2 separate regions of the Homo sapiens genome follow, and region 2 is linked to region 1. The links are contacts of gene promoters, found by promoter capture Hi-C in blood cells and fetal thymus (Javierre and others, 2016). All regions are on one chromosome and are shown on one strand. Each heading gives the region's core, a stretch centred on a gene start or on the middle of the fragment in contact. The rest is flanking DNA. Distances are from core to core; before and after follow the strand shown. Region 1 holds the start of MROH6 (maestro heat like repeat family member 6). Region 2 holds the start of PUF60 (poly(U) binding splicing factor 60).

The links. Contacts are between HindIII fragments. The CHiCAGO score rates a contact against its expected background, and 5 or more counts as called.
Region 2: a contact is called between the fragment with the promoter of PUF60 here and the fragment with the promoter of MROH6 in region 1, in 7 of 17 cell types (erythroblasts, neutrophils, naive CD8 T cells and 4 more). The highest score is 10.8, in erythroblasts.

The regions. Positions count from the first base shown.
Region 1 is chr8:143,570,612-143,574,307 of GRCh38, reverse strand. It overlaps MROH6 (maestro heat like repeat family member 6), which reads left to right and starts at 1,536. Exons shown (of 14, transcript NM_001100878.2): 1 at 1,536-1,887; 2 at 2,123-2,275; 3 at 2,487-2,641; 4 at 3,314-3,431; 5 at 3,651-3,696. The coding sequence starts at 1,594. It also overlaps a transcript of NAPRT not described here. RefSeq lists an enhancer at 2,178-3,027. The HindIII fragment of the contact is 15,945 bases long and covers 1-3,696 here.
Region 2 is chr8:143,827,094-143,831,331 of GRCh38, reverse strand. It overlaps PUF60 (poly(U) binding splicing factor 60), which reads left to right and starts at 2,017. Exons shown (of 12, transcript NM_078480.3): 1 at 2,017-2,052. The coding sequence starts at 2,029. It overlaps LOC107986985 (a long non-coding RNA gene), which reads right to left and starts at 2,052. Exons shown (of 3, transcript XR_001746138.2): 1 at 1,928-2,052; 2 at 1,294-1,486; 3 at 1-623. It also overlaps a transcript of NRBP2 not described here. RefSeq lists enhancers at 726-1,925, 1,246-1,945 and a silencer at 1,730-2,299. The HindIII fragment of the contact is 7,973 bases long and covers 1-4,238 here.

The sequences.
Region 1 (3,696 bases), core at 287-2,786:
TGCTGCCAACCCAGCACCACCCTGGCATCTGGCGTCAGGGACACAGCTCCTGACCCAGCAGCCCACGGAAGGAGAGGAAGAATGGGGAAGAAGTTGAAGCTCCAGGAGATGACTCAGCCCCAGACACCTGGCCAGAGTGGCACTGCACGTGGCTGTGCTGGGCTGGCCCTGCCTCTGCACCAGCAAGTTCCTGATCTCAGGGTTCCGCCAGTTTGGGCAACGTGAGCTTCAAGAGGAACTGCTTGGGGGAGAGGTTCTAGGCTTGGCAGGAAGTGGAGGCTGGGGGCCTGGGCCTCTCTTGTCGAAGCAGCCTGAGGTGGCACAGACAGGCAAGGGTGTGGGGGGAATGCTGACCGCCTGGGGCACTTCCGTCTGCCCAGGCATTCCACCAGACCAGCTCACCTGGCTCCCCGGGCTTCAGGGTGGGCAGCACCACTGTGTGGTTGGCTGAGGGTGGAGGGTGGGGACTTGGAGCAGAGGCCCAGTCCAGCCAGCCCCGGGGAGTACGAGCTAGGAGAGAGATACAGACTCACACACATTGGACAGAACACACCACACCCCAGGCACCCCCAGGGCACCCGCGCACTCCGAGGGGCCCAGCCAGAGTGGCTGTATTCTTCCGTTCTTGCACTGCTGTAAAGAAATACCTGAGACTGGGTAATTTCTAAGGAAGAGAGGTTTAATTGGCCTGTGGTTCTGCAGGTACAGGAAGCATGGCTGGGGAGGCTTCAGGAAACTTACCATCTTGGTGGAAGCGGAAGCGGGCAGGTCTTACATGGCCGGAGGAAGGGGTGGGGCGGTGCCACGCACTTCCAGACAACCAGATCTTGAGAAGTCTTATCATGGGAACAGCACCAAAGGGGGAAGTTGCCCCCAGGATCCAATCACTTCCCACCAGGCCCCACCTCCAGCACTGGGGATTACGTTTCAACATGAGATTTGGCCAAGGACCCAGGACCCAGAGGGGCCTGCACAAGCTCTGGAGGGGCCACCGCTCCTCTGGTGTCTTCACTGCCCCCTCCACACCTCCGGGCTGCCCCAAGCTCACCCAGTCATGCCTGTTGCAAGGTGTCTGACAGAGCCAGCGTGCAGGGGGCGGAGCCAGCGTGCAGGGGGCGGGGCCAGCCCCTAGCCCCAGGCCCAGTGGGGAGCTGACTGCTGCTTGGGGGCTGAATCAGGCCTCGACTCAGGGTGGGGCCCAGACTCCTGGACCCTGCGAGGACCTCCTCAGAGCTGTCCACAACTGCCCTGAGCTCCCTGGTCAACAGGGGCTGGTAGTCAGGGTGGGGGCCCTTCTCCCCCTTTCTTCGTGGATCTGCCAGCTCTTGGGGATCCTGTTCTCAGGGCCCTGGTGGGTAGAGCCACACCACAGGCACTCAGGCTGCAGGTGGCCACTCCCCTCCAGCAGCCCAGGCAGGAGGGCCCCTCAAAGGCCCATTGTAGGCACGTCCGTGTGGCTCCCCAGCCCCCGCAAGCTCACGCTAGCGCACGCCACCACGCCCGTCCGTGGTCCCGCCCGGGGCGGCTTCTAGGTCAGTCCTGGGCACAACTTCGCAGGAGGAGCAGCGGCAGGTGCTGCAGGCAAGGGCCGCCATGGCTGGGGGTGTGTGGGGCCGGAGCCGGGCCCGGGAGGCTCCCGTGGGGGCTCTAACCCTGACAGCACTGACTGAAGGAATCCGGGCCAGGCAGGGGCAGCCCCAGGGACCCCCTTCCGCAGGCCCTCAGCCCAAGTCCTGGGAGGTCAAACCTGAGGCTGAGCCACAGACCCAGGCACTCACCGCCCCCTCTGAGGCAGAGCCTGGACGTGGGGCCACCGTCCCTGAAGCTGGCAGCGAGCCCTGCTCCCTCAACAGTGCCCTGGAACCAGCCCCTGAGGGGCCCCACCAGGTGACGGGGGAGGGAAGGGATGTTGTGCGAACCGGCCTGGGGGTCCTGTGGATGGTAGGTGGAAGGCGGGGTGGCAGGGGGGCGGTGCTGGCCCCGGGGGAGGTCAGCGTGAAACAGGCTGGTGAGCAACAGAGGAGCAAGGGATTTTGTAGGAAGCCAGGTGGGAGGCCGAGGGACCAGGAGGAGAGCTAGGAGAGGTTTGGGCACTTCAGACGCCCCACCCATCCTGCCCTAGGTTCCCCAGAGTTCCTGGGAGGAGGGAGTTCTTGCCGACCTCGCGTTGTACACGGCTGCCTGCCTGGAGGAGGCTGGCTTTGCAGGGACCCAGGCGACAGTGCTCACCCTGTCCTCAGCCCTGGAGGCCCGGGGCGAGCGGTTGGAGGACCAGGTCAGCCTTCACCCACTTCATGCCCTACAGAATCCTGCCGGTTCGGGCACCAAGGTGGTGGGAGGGGCCTGGAGAGCGCAGCCTGACCCTGCCATCTTCAGGCTGCTCCTGCCAGGCGGGATCAGGGTGGGGGTGGAGGTGGGGTGCAGGCCAGAGGGGAATGGACGGTGGAGGAGGCCTGACTGCTGAAGTCTGCCCCCTTCCCCACCAGGTGCATGCTCTGGTGCGTGGGCTGCTGGCGCAGGTGCCCAGCCTAGCGGAGGGGAGGCCCTGGAGGGCGGCCCTGCGAGTGCTGAGCGCACTGGCCCTGGAGCATGCGCGGGACGTGGTGTGTGCGCTGCTACCCCGCTCTCTGCCCGCCGATCGGTAACCCAACCGTCCTGGCCCTGCGGTCCCCACGCGGCTTCCTTCCCTCTTCCCGCTTGGCGGTGGAGTCTGGCCCCAGAAGAGGGAGCTGAAAAGGGGCAGGGCCTCCTTATTCCAGCCCCGCGATGACTCATGCCCCGTATCCATTCCCGCTCCCCTCATTTTTAGCTCCGCAAACTCCCCCCACACTCCTGCCACAGAGTTTCTGATGCTGGGCTCCTCTCTTGGAGCCACCTTCTATCTTCGGGTGGCCTCCCCTGGAGACCGTCCTGGGGTTGGCTCCGGAGTGGGGTGAATGAGGCTGGGGGGCTAACGTGCCTGGACACCCCTGGCTCTTTGGTTAATTGGCCCCAGAAGTTATCTTTGGTTTTATTCTCTGTGGCAATTTTTTTCTTTTTAATAATGCCAGGTTTGTTTCACTGTCGCTGACCCAACGGGACTCCCAGTGGGTCCCCACCCTGCAGCTCAGCTTGAGATAGGCTATGTTGTGGTCTGCACAATTAACCCTTCATTTGTTTCTCTGAGATTTGGGGATGGGGGGAGATGGGAGGGGTTTCCTGCCCCTCCCCTGCTGGAGTCCTACTGGCTGCCTCCACCCTGGCTGGGGACTCCCTACATTCCCTGGACACCCACCCATCTCTTGTCTCACACCAGCCCCCTCCAAACCCTCAGGGTAGCAGCCGAGCTCTGGCGCAGCCTAAGCCGTAACCAGCGTGTAAATGGGCAGGTGCTGGTGCAACTGCTGTGGGCGCTGAAGGGTGCTTCGGGGCCGGAGCCCCAGGCACTGGCGGTAGGTGGCTCCAGCCATTACCAGGGGGTGGGGGCGGGGGTGGGGGGTGGCGAGGAGCGGGGAGGATGGGCATAGGGAGTTTGCACCTAGGTAACTGCTCCTGGAATGTCCCATGCGTGTCTGAGGCTGTCCCCATCCTGTTGACAGCACGCCTGTCCCTCTGCTGCCCAGTGCAGCTCCAGGCGTGCCCCAGGCCTGAGTGGGCCACTTGCTCCACAGGCCACACGTGCTCTTGGGGAGATGCTGGCTGTTTCGGGCTGCGTGG
Region 2 (4,238 bases), core at 768-3,267, 260 kb before region 1:
GACTTCTCTTTTGAGATGCAGTCATGGTGGTGGCAAGAACACAGGCTCTGGAGCCATTCTACTGCTGCTCCCTGCCTTGTGATGTTGCCCATCAGTAAAAATGGGGTAACAGCTGTATCCATTGCATAGCACTGGGTTGTGAGGATCCCATGAATGAATGTGTGTAAGAACAGTCCTGGGCACCATGCATCCTGCGTGCACATTATTGCCAAGGGAAGCTGTCCCCAGAGGGTGGTGCCTGTGGCTTCCCCTGGTGGTGGTGGCAGACCAGCCCCCCACCTCCCATCCACCCCCTCCATTGTGGAGGCCTTGTGTGCCAGGCTAGCCCTAAGAGCACCCACCTGTGTTACTGCTATTCTGTTTTCCAGCTATCTGGTTCTGTCATTATACATTCTGGAAGACTTCATCTTAAAAGCCTATTGAATTGCTCACTTTCCCCTCATGTTTTATTTCTAAGAGCTCTTTCTCATCCCGAGGTTTCTTTCTCTATAGCCCCCAGTTCCTTTTTATTGACTGAGAATGGCATTTTAGTTTTCATTTTTCTTCGGCTTCCTTTATCGTCTCTGTTTCTTCTGAGTCCCTTTTCTTCTTTCTCAGGTGTCTGGTGATCCTGGGCTGTCCAGCTGCATTGAAGAGTGAGATGCTTTTAGTGGCTGGGGCTTATGACCTGGTGAGCTTCGAGGCCAGGGATCTGGCTGGGCCATTCTACTGGGCAACACTCTACCCCTAGGTGCCCTGCCAGTCTTTTCTTTTGAGCTAGGAGCTGCTGCAGAGAGGAGCCCTCTTCTCTGAGAAGCCTGATGGCATGCGGGTGGTCAGACCCAGCCCAGGGGTGGAGGCAGGGGTAGGACCCAGAGTCTCACTTACTCCCAGGCTTTCAGACAGGGCCTTGCTTGAGCAGGGCCTCAGAGCTCCTCTCCTGGAGCTCACGTCTCAGACACTGCAGTGCCTGCCAGCCCCGGTGGGTAGGGACAGAGGTCTGGGGTTTCCTTTCTGTAGCTGTGCTTTCACCCACGACCCTCAGACACTGGCCTCCATAGCCAAGTGGGCTGGAGTAGCTCTCGCTGTCCACCTTTCTTAAGCTCTGCAATATCCCAGCTCTTTGCCCTTGCAGGGTTTGTCTTTATAAAACCCCTTTCCTATAATTTTGGAAGGTTTCAGGAGGGAGGCGGGGAATATTCTGCCCTATTTAAGTAGAAGTGTCTGTATTAAATTCTAAATGTTCCCAGGGTTGAAAGGAGGCCTGCCCGGGATGCCTTGTGGCCTTAGGCAGCTGAAGGTGCCTGAGCTTACAGATGTGGCTTCTTCGGATGACCGAGTTGGGGTCTCGGGACTGGGTGCAGCAGATGGCAAATGTCCAGGACAGGCAGCTTTCCCAGCAGTACTGACAGACACCTTGGGCCATGAAAGCCAGTTCAGGGACTAACGGGGCCTGCGGGCTGCGGGTCTAGCGACTGATGTCAGCCAACCTAGGGTCATCGGTTCCCTGGAAGGAGAAAAAGCTGCCAATTGAACGGGGCCTCCCGGTCCCAGGGATGTCGCGACGCGGGGACGACGCATCTCACGACGTCAGCCTGAAACACGCGGGCCTTTCATCACCCGAGACTCCTCCAGCCCAGGAGGGCCCCGCTCTTTCGCCTGCCTCCTGGGGGAGAGCCTCTGGACGACGCACGCGACAGCGTTTTCTCCAAAAAAGGCAGAGAAGAGAAGCGTAGCAGTGGCCGCAAGGGCGACGGGCGGCGAAGGGTACTACGCACGCCCGCGTCGGCCACGCGGAGAGATACGCCCGACTCGAGTCCCGCGGCGCACGCCCCTAGACGCCCGAGGTGCGCGGGCCACGCCCCTCGCCCGGCCAAGAGCACGCCCCTTCCGTCGCCCCTCCCGGGGGCGTTTACCGTTCCTCCCCGCCCCGGAAGCGCGTTCTTACCTCCTTCCTCGCGAGAGTTCCGTGCACCGGCACCCAGATCGCGCGAGACAGCGGAAGGAGCAAGAGTGGGAGGCGCGCGCGGAGGCCGCGACGGACGCAAGATGGCGACGGCGACCATAGCTCTCGTAAGTGAGCCCCCCCATGAGCGCGGGCGGCCCTCGGCTTGCGGGGCCGGGTCGTCGACCCAGCCTGGGCGCGGAGGGCCTCCCAAGAACGCGGCGGTCTTCCCAGGTCCCGCGCGGACTCCCTCGTGTCCCCGGGTCGCGTGAGGCGGGGGCGGGGCGGGCGCGCGCCGGCGGCCGGCTCGCGGCCTCAGCTTCCGGCCTGCGGACCCCAGCTTCCGGCGGGGCGGGGCGGGGGCCTGGGCGCGGCGTGTGGCCCTTGCGGGCGAGCCTGGCGGGGTTGCGTTCCTGTCCGCTAGGTCCGGCAAGCGGGGGTCGTCGTCCTCCCTTTGCCGACGGGGGTGTGCGCCGTGGTCACGACGGAAGCGGGGTTCTGGGGGTGACGCGTGGGCCTTCGGGTTGATGGGATCAGAAGGGGACGGGACCTGTAGAAAGGGGCCTGCAGCTCAGAGCATGGGGCGGCCTTGGCTCACTACGCCTGCAGCTGTGAATTCGTTCTCCGGTGCTGGAGAGGGATCTGGTTATCTCCATTCTCTTGTCTCCACGTGGAAAGGAAGGACGTGCGCTCTCATCCTACGTGTTTTGAGAAATCGCATTGTCCCCAGCTCTGCGGGAGGATCTGGGGACGCAGTGGGGAACCAGACAGGCAGTTGGAGGTCTAGTGCGCACCAGAAGCCAGTTCCCACCCAGGGTGCCATTTGCTGGGCGCCCTAGGGAGCTGCGTGGGCATCCAGAGGAGTGAGTCGCCCCCTGCTCTGCTCAGTGCCCACTTCCCCGGGCAGGGCAGGCGTTATTAACGTAGAGGGAGAACACCCATGCACACAACACATGCACGATGAAGTCTGGTCTTTCCTTCTCACCACTTAGCTTATAGGACCTAATCCCCTTTTGGACCTTTCTCAGCCGCAGTTTACCCCTGTATTACTTGTCACCCTTCCCCCAGCCCACACCCAGCGGGATGGGATAAGGTCTGTTTGAGAAGACAGCTTGGGCAAATGGCTGAAGGCTGGACTGGCAGGACCAGGGAGTGTCCTTAGACTGCCATTGCCAGGCCCCCAGCGGGCGGGCTGGTCCCATGTCCCACTGAGGCAGAAACCAGTTACTAGGGGGAGAGAGGCATTTACACAAGATACCCAGCTTGCGAGGGCAGCCCAGTGTGTGATTCACAGGACTGGCTAACTCCACTCTTTCTACTATGTCCTTTCTCTTGAAGCCACAGGAGTAAGTGACCTTTGAGGGGCACTCCAGAGAGAAAGGATGTAAGGGTTGAGGACCTGGTGACTGTCTTCAGGCAGCAGTCAGAGAGTTGATGGTGAAGGAGGAGGAGGCTCAGAGACAAGGACTGGACATGGGAAGGTGGAGGAGGAGAGTGGATGCCTGACTCCCCTAGCACCCGCAGAACAGCGCCCTGTGCTCATGAGGGTTAAATGGGGGCTCAGGTCTGCTGTGGCGTGGTGCCAGATAGGTGGTGTCATTGTTGAGTTGGACGTGGGCCATAACTGACCCCACGAACGGGTTGTCTGTTGGGGTGTTTGTTGCCATCCAAATTCTGTTGGGTTTAATACGTGTTTTTTTATCGTCAGGTTTCAGGCTTGCATCCGGCTCCAGGAGTGAGCTGTAGCCTGTGGTCTAACCCATTCCTCTTTTAATCATTGGGATGGAAAGGCTTCTAGAAGGGTTATCTGTTCCCACCGTCCTGGTTGGGCACAGTGATGAGAGCCTGTCCCCTGTCTCATGCTGCTTCAGCTCTCATGGGAGGTTGAATGGAGCAGCTGAACTTGGCTGACAGTGGCCTGGTGGGGAAGGAAGCCAGAAGATGCAGAAGGGCCTCCCCTCCCATGGGCATGCCTTCTGCCTGGTGGCTGCAGAATGAGGCCGGCTGCCTCTTTGCAGCAAGGGTAGGTCTTCTGGATGCATCTTTTCACTTTGACGCATGGCTCCGTTCTCTTCACTGACAGCCAGACCAGCTCTCATTTGGGGTCATCACCCTTGGGGTTCCAGTTCCTTTCTTCTGTAGGCCCCAGCCTGCAATGTCACCTCATAGAGAGGCCCCCGGCTGCCATGGCCTGGCATAGCTCATAGCCACTCCTTTCTTATCCTGTGCTTTCTTCGTAGTGCTGGTAAACCACAGAAGTCATCTTTGATTTTGGCATTCTTTGCTGGCAGCTGACACCAGGCTCCTGAGAGAG